Regions from separate parts of the Homo sapiens genome. Here region 1 is linked to region 2. Evidence: promoter capture Hi-C in 16 types of primary human blood cells and fetal thymus (Javierre and others, 2016). All regions are on one chromosome and are shown on one strand. The core of a region is centred on a gene start or on the middle of the fragment in contact, and the rest is flanking DNA. Distances in the headings are between cores, read along the strand shown. Region 1 holds the start of ITM2B (integral membrane protein 2B). Region 2 holds the start of SUGT1 (SGT1 assembly cochaperone of MIS12 kinetochore complex).

The links. The method cuts DNA at HindIII sites, captures the fragments that hold promoters and counts their contacts. A CHiCAGO score of 5 or more calls a contact.
Region 1: the fragment with the promoter of ITM2B here is called in contact with the fragment with the promoter of SUGT1 in region 2 in 1 of 17 cell types (fetal thymus); the score reaches 6.3 in fetal thymus.

The regions. Positions count from the first base shown.
Region 1 is chr13:48,231,523-48,236,925 of GRCh38, reverse strand. It overlaps ITM2B (integral membrane protein 2B), which reads right to left and starts at 3,720. Exons shown (of 6, transcript NM_021999.5): 1 at 3,449-3,720. The coding sequence starts at 3,565. RefSeq lists enhancers at 820-1,407, 2,512-3,209 and silencers at 3,265-3,474, 3,485-3,844. The HindIII fragment of the contact is 15,181 bases long and covers 114-5,403 here.
Region 2 is chr13:52,649,233-52,654,844 of GRCh38, reverse strand. It overlaps SUGT1 (SGT1 assembly cochaperone of MIS12 kinetochore complex), which reads right to left and starts at 2,009. Exons shown (of 13, transcript NM_006704.5): 1 at 1,887-2,009; 2 at 1,742-1,799. The coding sequence starts at 1,924. It overlaps SUGT1-DT (SUGT1 divergent transcript), which reads left to right and starts at 2,538. Exons shown (of 1, transcript NR_170300.1): 1 at 2,538-3,540. RefSeq lists enhancers at 1,529-1,648, 1,758-2,259, 2,369-2,708 and a silencer at 2,009-2,278. The HindIII fragment of the contact is 4,517 bases long and covers 1-4,477 here.

The sequences.
Region 1 (5,403 bases), core at 2,471-4,970, 4.4 Mb after region 2:
ATCAGCACTTTACTTTTCTCTCTCCTTTTAAAGAATATCTACAAAGTGGGGTAGAGAGAAAGCAACACTATTTGTCAGCAAAACAACTTGCAGGGATACATATGAAGCAAGCTTAAGCTATTCTGTGGCCTGATACTGGAAAAGGGGTTTCATAAGCAGGCATTGCAACAAAGAGGTGCTGACAACTTCACTGTTCACTGTGAGGTAAACAGAAGTGACAATGTGCTTTATTACATAATACCTCTACCCATCTCCTTTCTCTTTGACCCACTGCTACTTGATATGAGGGAAGAATGTAACATGTTAAACACCAAAAGGAAGAAAGGGAATAGTCTGGTTAGAGTGAGGAGGTAGTTGCTATTTTTCACAATTAAAACAATTTAATGTCTGCCAAATATAATTATGTAATCCTAGCATCTTCATAGATTTTTGAAACTGGAAGAATCCTTACAGGCCATCTGGTCCTACCCTCTCATCTTACAGACAGAAAACCTAAAAATTTAAGCCCAAGATCAAGTAGTTATGTAATGACAAAACTGGGACTTCTGATACAGTACATCAAGTATTTTGTTATCTGCAAATATAAAACAATTTCCCAAGGTTCAAAGTATTGCCACAAAAATATATGAATTGTTGCCTATAGCATAAAACATGTATATAATTTCAAATTCACTTCTGCTACCCAAAATACATCCCATCTTTGCTGTCTCTATAGCTCTAAGAGCTTTATGCCTACTAGGAGAGGAGGAAGGTGAAAACAATTAAGGGGAAAATGCAGGAAAAGAATAAACAGCAAGCTAGTTGAGATAAAACTATCAATAGAAATGGCTGTTAGGATTAATAGCTGCTGAAAAGATAAGACTGAAAAATGGGGTAATAGAACTGTTTCTGGAGAGTTCTCACCCTGCAGAAGAAAAAAATAGAAAGACAGGAGCAATGTAAAAGTACTGGAATGCATGTTATATAAGCCAGCTGATTAGAGTGATCAGAATTCTTGTGGCATAAGGTAACAGAATCTGCATTTTAAAACCAGAGCAGGTGGTCCCTAAGAGCACATTTTGGAAAACAATGGTCTGCGGGATATTGTGATCTGGGAGGGTTAAAGATAAGAAAAATTCTTGTTCAGGAGTTCTAGGCCATTAACTAGCTTGGTTTGATTCTTTCAACCAACCAGGCAAAGGAAATGCCCTCGGCAAAACACATTAAGGCTGATTCTGTTCCCAGTCCAGGCAGTCAGACAAGGTGGCTGCCACAGAGCCACCCGCAAGGAGCCAGAGAACATTATGTAATCACTGCCCAAGCTCTGAAATGAAGAGATCAGAACTTCTTTCACAAAAGTCTGTCATTAAGGTTTTCCTTTTCCCGTTAAGCGACTGACTGATTATAAGGATTCTACTTTTAATGTAGAGAAATATTTTGTCATCCCCTAAAGAAGTCTTTCAGCTTATAGCTGGAAAAAGAATTAGTCATTTTTTATCTACCAACTCATCCGTGACTGCTGGGTGGTTTACAAAGACGACTCTGGCCCTCACTCTTTAGTCCCAGTAGTATTTTTCTTTGGATATGGAGGATCTGAGAAAATAAAAAATGGAAAACAAAGCACGGAGCTACCAATGATTACTTATAGCTGCAATGACCACAAAATTTAAATATGGTGAACTCGTGAGCAATTTTGAGAATCTGGCAGAGTCACTATTTCAGAAATGACAAAAATTGTCAGAAGTCAGATTTAATGGTGCTCAGCAAATGTAATTCTGATGTTTGTCCAGAGTTTCAAATCTCCACTACAGCGGAACAGAGAAAAGCTGTCTGAAGTGACATCATCCAATGCTCGCTCACTCTCTCCTTTCTAAATGGGAGCAGTTATATTTGTTAATAGGATTTTTAAATGTATGTGTGTATATATATATATGTGATAGCATTAAGACTACATATATTTGAGACTGTTGTGACTGGATACTTGACTCTCAATCTATTTTAGGTACAACGAATGTTAGATAAACAAAGAGCTAACATAATAATTTGCTACTGCAATTTTCATCTGTGCATTCCAAACATTTTCTTTAAAGACCAAGATTGTTTGCAATGGCTTCAGGAAAACAATACCAATACGAAAACCAAAACCTTTAATCCTTTTAGGGAATCAGTTCACTGTTCCTATTTCAAGGCAAGGCAAGTCATTTAGAAATCAACCTCTGACGTGTCTGTTTTTATCAGAACATTTCCAGAAAGTAAGATTACCATTATATTCTGAAGATAGATTATATTCAGAATATAATAAATTATAATATGATGTCTAGATTACCATTATATTGTGAATTTTTTACAGTATATTAGTGGCCTGTTTTTCAGCAATAATTTTCATTCGTCCATATAAAAACTCCCATTATTCATACGTGGCACACCAATTTTTTTAAGTTAAAACTAAATTTACCCTACTGATAATAGGTCTTGAAAAATGCTAACAACAACAAAAAATAAGATAAGCAACATAACTTTACAGTTAATTTCTAATTTTTGCAGCCTAAAAAGGGTCTGGGTAAGAGGCTGTGGGCTTTTTTAACTTATGAGACAATTACACTCATATTTAAGTAAATATGATCGTAACCTACTAAAAGTCAACACAGTAACAGCCCCACTTCATGAATTTTCCTAGGATTAAAGGGAGATTTTGTAAAATAAAGGAGAATTTTATTAGGGACCCGGGGGCAAATTTCTCATGTTTAGTTTCACGCAGCAGGAGTCCTCACAAAGACGCTGATACAATTTAAATGCCAACAATTGGTTTTTCACTAACATCCACATAGTCATTACTGGCCTTTACTAGTAATGGTAAGAGACAGCCCAAACCTACTTCGGGCGGACTGTCCCTTCGTCCCCTCTCCAGGTGAAGTTCACCTGCCACTACCGAAGGGCCGTGGAAAAAGGAGGTAAAGAAACGCTTTTAAAATTAAGACGCTTACAGTTGCTGGACTTAGTCCAAGTGCTGTTCAAGCCTAGAAACGAAAGTGGGAAACAACAGAGGTTTAGGCTTGTAATGATGTCAGCCATTTTAGGTACATTATTTATACTGGGAAGGAAGTGCCAAACTCGGTTGTTGTTGTTGTGCCTGTCGCTGCCGGTCCCCAGATCGAACAAGCCAAGTCCTGGCTGCACGCACGCTCCCCGGACTGCACAAACGACCGGGAATTCGGCACAATTAGCCAATCGTTCCCTCTCCAGGCCTCCCAAGCCCCCGACCCCGCGTCAGGCACCGCTTCCAGCACACGCACTTCCTTACAAAGGAGCTGCGGACCCACAGGAAACGGGAGCGCCGGGCTCTCTCGGGGACTTGTCCCCGCGGCGCGAGCCCCGCGCCCGCCACCTCGGGGCGCACTGCCGCTGCAGTCCGCGCAGCCCTCCCCGGCCGGGCCCAGCACCCGCTTCCTCGACCTCCCCGGGCTCGGACCTTGCAGTCCACCGCGACGGCGTCGGGGGGGATGATGAGCGCCTCCTCGCCGCTCTTGGGCTCGTCCTTCTTGGCCTCCTTCTGGGCCAGAGCGGAGTTGAACGTCACCTTCACCATGGCGCGGCCTGGGGCGCCCTCGAAGGGCGGCGGCGGGCTCGGGGCGCGGGCTGCGGGCTCCCGGCTGCGATTGCAGCCTCTACGGCCGGGCTCCGGGAGCGGCTCCGGGCGGCTGAAGAGGTTCGGGAAGCTCCGCGGCGGCAGAGGCGGCTACTGCGGTAGGGATCTCGCAGCCTCCCAGCTCCCGCGCGAGGGCGGAGACTGCTCGCACATCCCCTGGGAGGCGGGGCGGGGGCGGGGGCGGGGCCAGCGGCCGGGGGTGGGGTGCTGCGCGGGACCCTGCCCTCGCCCCGCAGCTGGGCGCCGGATCCCGGCGCGCCTCGGAGAGGGATGGGTGTCCCTCTGGGCCGCCTGGAATTTCCAGTTCTGAATTCGCTCCCAACCAGGTTACCTCCAGGCCGAGTGCTGCAGGTTTGTAGCGAAATCGAGTGAACTTTCCTGAGTTCGCCGGGTACAAGGGACTAACCTTTGGCAGCACCAGACCGCCGCTTCCCTGTACCCTGTCCCCACCGCGAGCCTAAAGGCCATGGAATTTTTGTGCATCCACATCTTCATTTTCTCACTTATTAGGTAACCGACTCAGTGGAGCACAAACATGTTTAAAGCTCTCTGTCCTTGAGATCTGACTTTATCTTTCACGGACCTCACCCAAGGGCGTTTACCTGGCTCAGACCTGCCTGGTCTTCCTTCCCTCTCTCAGGAGGTCAGGGCCTGTTCTGCCTAGTCCCAGACCAATGTGGAGGAAGCTCTTGGCAGATTTGTATTTCAAACATCTCACACTCGTAAAACGAAATGTTCCACTCTTGTGCGTACTTGGAAAAAAACCACATGCACACTTGGCTGATTTGTGACTCAAAGTACTCGATGACGAGTCCCTTTATTTTTCTGCAAAATGAAAAAATAATTAAGGATAACGCAAAATTCTCATGTTTTGAAGACGTTTCATTTACAACTAATGCGAGGTAGAATACTGGCTCCCGTCGTTACTGCGTTCATTACTGTGTCAACAGACGGCCCCCTTGGACAAATGTGTTATCTTGTATCCTTCCACCCCATTCTGTCCTGGTTCATCCAGAGTTGTGGGTGTGCTCTAGAATGTTACAGCTGTGTCAGCTCTGCCTTGGGCCAACCCTGAAAAAAGTGGGTTCAGTCTGAGATCTTTGGGGATTTGGCCCTGCTCAAGGAGGGAGTTGGGTATTTCCATAGAATGTCAGATCATAAGTCCCAGGGAAACAGCCCAAGATCTCCAAATCCTTCTGTTCATGTATTTCAGAAGCATCCTGGGCTGAGATAGAAACCCAGGCCAGACTTTGAGTTTGCTTTGGGTATTCAGAAATTCCTGTCAAAATGAAATCTGCTCAACCAAGAGGAGGATGAGTTAGGTTCCAGTTCTGGTGAGTTTTAACAGTAGCTAACCATACTTGCAGCAACTTATTTAAACTCCTGGGTCGCCCTTGTGCAGGCATCGGCTCTGTGAGGTTGACTCTATGGACTGGACTTTCATAGTATCTAATGTTATCTAATTCCTCAAAGTCAACGACTGCTTCCAGCTCCCTAGTTTAATAGGTTCCCTGAGACATTACAGTTGAAGACTAAGTATTTCTGGAAGCAAGATCTGGAGGATTATAAATAATTATATGTACATCCTTCCTACTTCGTTCTGTGTTAAAATAAGATGGTAGAAAAATACTCAAGGCATTTTGCAGTAGATGATAGAGAAGAATCTGGCTGTCATTATACTCCGGGGGGAAAAAAGGAATTACAGAAGAAAATAAAACAAAATTCTTCGTGAACAACACTACTGAACAGACTAGGAAGCTGAGGCAAAGGATGAACAA
Region 2 (5,612 bases), core at 760-3,259:
GTTAGAATAAATTGCGCCGTACTTACGGCTATACAACATATATTTATACAATGGAATATTACACAGCAATGCGAAAGAACTACTACTTCACACAATATGAATGTATACTTATGTAATCATTAAAGCAAAAAGAGTGTCTACATTCAATAAAGCACCTACTGTATGATTCTGTTTATGAGTCAAGAACAAACAAAACTAACTGATGGTGATGGAGGTCAAAGCAGGAGTCAGCAGGACAGTAAGAAGAATTACTGGCTGAGAAGGCGCATTAAGGAGCATTATGAATGGAGATACTCTGTATCTTAATCTGGTGGTGTAAACATGTGAAAACTCATCAAACTATAGACTTAAAATCTGTGTTATTTACATAAATCATATATGCCTCCATAAAAATTTTTAAAGTAAAAGAAGATGGAAAGTGACAATAAAATTCATTATGTTAATACTGTTTAAAAGCAACTTTTATATAAACTGGATTCCCAAAGGAAGCACTAGGTCTAACACGACAATAACAAATGTAAATTAAAAGTCATAGCTGTCTAGCTAATACAAGAAATTATGGAGAAAAATTCTCAGTGCTTCCTGTAACATTATCCCCAAACTCATCCCAGAAGCCTTACTCCCAGTATCTAAAGGTCTATATATTTAGGTGTAAAAAACACACCTGGACCCTAAAAGGCCTTATAGGACCTGGCTCCTAGTTTCCTGTCCAACCTCTCTTAATCAAATGGGCCCTCTAATAAAAAGGGCCTTTTTGTTGCTTCACATACAGGCCAACTTCATTCCTACCTCAAGATCTGCACTGGCTCTTGGTCCTGCCTGGAATATTCTTTCCCCAGAGCTTCCAAGTTAATTCCCTTGTTCCTTCAAATCTCCACTCAAAGATCTCCTCAACGGAGGCTCTAGTACCATGTGGCACATTTCTTATAAAAGTCATAGCTAGAAAAGACGCTGTCTTGCCTCAAATTGTTAAACGTAACAGCAAAACAGGTTTCCTCTTTTCTGTGATTTAACGCAAAAACAAACAAAAACTCCTGGCTAAATTCTGTGACCCGCAGCATCATTTATCTTTAGGTTCTCCTTTAATTCTTATTATTTAACTCTTGATCTTTTACATTCCTTTACAGCTTTATGGTTTGCCTTCATTGCACACCTACAAAAAGTGATTTCTAGGTTAGCTGAGTATATAACCAAGACTTTAACCCACAGCAATCAGCGCCTTTGCACACAGCCACTCCAAAAAAAAATTTTGATGAATATACAAATGAGTGAATAATGAATTGTGATAAGACATCTGGAAAGTTTCAGGGACGTGAGGGAAAAGGGTTTTGCTCCAGTAGACTGACTTCATACCGACACTTTTACGTAAGAATGGCAAGAATTATTGTCAAACGAAAAAATTAACTTCATCGAGCCCAGAGTCCACTTCTCTAATCATAAATGTCATTAAAAAAAAAATCCTTTCAGCCAAACTACAAATGCCAACCATGCTCCCAAGAAATAGAGGAGGTTTTTCTCAGGAGCTGTAGGGAGTGGAAAGGGCAAGACAGGAGTCTGGGGTAACGCGGCTACCGTGTAACAGAGAAAAGAGACGGAGAATCTCAATACCGGAGCTGAGACGCAGCATCAACAAGAGCCTGGGTCCCTGTCCGGCGGTGCGGGGAGAAGGCGGGTCAGCGGGGACCCGAAGTGGCCCAGCTCCCCTAAGAAGAGTGGAGGAAGCAGAAATGGGCTCTCTCACCTCTAACGCCGCCTGGGGGTCCTCGTCGATTAGGGCATCCGAGAAGCTCTGGAAAAACCTGTCAGGAAAACAACGACTTCAGCAGGGCTCACTAGCCAAGGAAAGGGGGATAAAATAAATACCAAAGGGAAAGAAAAACATGCACCTCTGGGATGTTGCAGTTCCTGCTGCAGCCGCCGCCATCCCTCGTAGTCGCTGTTGCTGCCGCCGGAGCTGCTACTATCACGGTTACCACCTCCACCACCGCCCAAGGGGGAAACTTCTGGAGAAACACCAACCGAGCTTCCGTCCTAAATAGCCAGCGAGCAGCCACGCAGCGTGCTGCTAGGGGGACGGGAGGCGACACGCCGGCGCGGGGCCGGCTGGGACAGTGGAGGACCGATTCCTCCCAGCCGCACCCCGGCCCAGGACCCGCGCTCCCAGTCCCCGCCCCTCGCAGCCATGGTTACGGAGGCCTGGGGCGTACACGTTCTTCCTCCCTTCCACCGCGCCCACGCCAGCGGGCACTCCCACGGAGCTTTCAGTAGTACTTTAGAAGCACTTTTGTAACGTACTGTCATCCCTAAGGAACGTGTGGCGGTTAGGGGCGTTTGTATGTCTGTTAATAACGGAAGCTACTTCGAGCTCCCATTTTCCCTAGTTTTTATCATGGCTGCCACAGCTAGCCAAGCCCTTTCGCCTCCATTACGTCTTTAGCGGCTGCGTGGTCTCTTCCGGGAGCAGAGGCCCGGATGACGCGTGGATCCCCGCGATCTTTGGGCTGGGGATTCTAAACGACTGGGACTTGCCGGAAGTCATTCTGCACTAATAGCGGCAAAAAGCCTTCTGGTTCCTGGGGCGACGCGCCCGGCGGCCGTACTATTCACTTCCCCAGAACGCCACAGCCCAGGCTTTCTTCTTAGTGGGCTTCCCAGACCAAGAAGGGAAACCTTTCATCCGAAGGTACTGAGGGGAGGAAGGTGGCCTGAAGTTATCTCAGTGCCGCTTTGTTTCCCACCCCAGTCGGTCAGCCCTTCCTCAGCGCCCTTTAACCCTTGCAGATCGGATGGAGAAAGCTGCCAGCACGTTCTAGGGATGGGGGCAGATTGAGGAGCGGGAGGGAGTAGTCTTTGTCTAACTTTATACCAGTACCAAACTATGTTAATTTAATGTAGTTTTATAATAAATCTTTAAGTCCTGTAACTTATTCTCCCAAGATTGTTTTGGCTTATTCTACGGCCTTTGTATTTCTAGGTGAATTTTGGAATTAGCTTGTTAAAAAGGGGGGGGATTTTTTATTGGGCTCGCATTGAATCTATAGATCTGTTTGGGAAAACTAGTATCTTAACAACAAGTCCTTCAATCCATGAATATCATTCTTCCCCCACCATTTATTTAAGCGGTCTTTAATTTCTCCTGGCAATATTTTGTAGATTGCACATATATCTATATTTTAATGCAGCTGTGCTTGGATAGATTGCAGTATAGAGATCATATATATCTTTCATTAGATTTATTCTTGAGTATTTAGTGTTTTGTATACAATGTTAAATGGCATTTTGACTTTTTTATATTCTACTCGTAAGAATAAACAATATTGATTTTAACATACTGACCTTATATGCAAGCATCTTGCTAAGTTCCCTTGTTATTTGTAATACTCTGTAGATTCTTTCGGAATTTCTGTGATCAAAATCTTGCAATCCACGAATAAAGATGGTTTAACTTCTCTGTAACCTTTATACCTTTTATTTTTATTTATTTTTGCCTTTTGTTGCTGGCTAGTGTTTCCACTATTGAATAAAAACAGTGATAATGGACTTCCTTGTCTTGGTCATAACATCAGGAGGAAAGCATTGAATATCAACTGCTTTTTCTGCCTTTATTGAAATGTTCATTTGTATTTTTTAATGTTACTGTGAATTACCTTGGTTAGTTTTCAAATGTTATCTAAATGGCCAATTGTCCTTCTGGACCCCACTGACTCCAGTTGGGATGGCACTGTAAGAAGAGAGGCAGAGTCAGTGAAGGAGACAAGGTTTATTCAGGATTTACATACAAGGGTGGTCCGGTGGTGGAGGGCTGACCTGGAGAACTGCTACCATTTGTAAAAAGCACGTAGTCTATATAGCATTTTCACTTAGCACTCTCCTTCTAGCAACCTCCATTTAACCCCAAAGGGCCTTGATCTGTACAGCGTAAGATACGGGCCAGGGATGTGGATGTCCTTCATAGATAAGGAGTGAATCTCTGGGTTGGCTGCTCCTGGATTCCTTAGCCCAGGACTCCAAACGTAAGTTCTTCTTAGACCATAGGGTTAGTCTCAGGTATGCTCCGGTTATGGCTCAGCCATACACTAATGTGTGTACACCAGCCTCTGCCATGCACCAATACACATATATGTATGGCCTCTGAAAGGGTGAATTCCAAGACCGCCCTATGGGCCCAACATGAAAAGAAGTTCTATATATTATGGACATTGAAATCAATGAGATACCAAAACTACCACCAGAATGGCTTAAATTAAAAGGACTTCCAATACCAAGCACTGACAAGGATATGTAGCAACTGTATCTTTCATATATTGTTGGTGAGAGTTTAATCATTTTGGAAAACTGTGGTACCGTATGTCTGTTCTTGCATTGCTATAAATGAGACTAGGTAATTTATAAAGAAAAAATGTTTAATTCACTCATGGTTTTGCAGACTGTACGAGAAGCATAGCAGTTTCTACTTTTGCAGAGGCCTCAGGAAGCTTCCAATCACCGCACAAGGCAAAGGTAGAGCAGCCATCTTACATGGCAGGAGCAAGTAGGGTGGGGGTAGGTGCTACACATTTTTAAACAACCAGATCTCACAAGAATTCACTGTTGCAAGGACAGTACCAAGAGAGGTGGTACTTAACCATTCATGAGAAACCCACCCCTATGATCCAGTTACCTCCCACCAGGCCCCACCTCCGACATTGGGGATTGCAATTTGACATGTGATTTGGGTGGGGACACATATCCAAACTATATCAGACACTATCTACTAAAGCTAGTTATACACAGACCATAACCCAATAATTCTACCACTGGGCATATACCCAAGAGTATTTATTATTTATGATCATGTAGAAGAATATTCATTGCAGCATTACCCAAGGTAGCAAAAACTGGAAATAATCTAAATGTCCTTAAATAGGAGAAAAAAATATTACATAGCAATAGGAATGAACGACTACTACACACAACGATATGGATGAAGCTTATATACATAAGTTGTGGTAAAAAAAAAAAAAAGCCAGACGGAGTACATCATGATTGATTCCACTTAGATGAGAGGTATCATAAGGGAACCTCCTGGTTGTCAGGGAGGGTGGGGAACAGGAGCATGAAGAAATCTCGGATGCGGGAAATGTTACATATCTTGATCTGGCTGGTAATCACAGCAGTGTATTCAAACATAAAATTTTATCAAGTTATGCACAAGATTTGTGCAGGCTGGGTGCAGTGGCTCACGCCTGTAATCCCAACACTTTGGGAAGCCAAGGCAGAAAAATCACTTGAGCCCAGGAGTTCAAGACCAGCCTGGGCAAGATGGTGAGACCTCGTCTCTACAAAAAATAAATAAATAAAAAACATTAGCCAAGCATGGTGGCGCGTGCCTCAGCTACTTGGGAGGCTGAGGCAGGAGGATCGCTTGAGCCCAGGAGGTTGAGACTCTTATCGTGTTACTGCACTCCAGCCTACGTAACAGTGTGAGTCTCAACAACAACAACAAATTGTTCACTTTGATTTTGCAGATTCGTTTGAGGAGAAATGATATATTTCCCTTGTATTGCCTCTTCCAGTCCATGAACATAATTGCTTGTTTCATTCAGTTATTCGTATGTCTTTTAGTAAAGTTT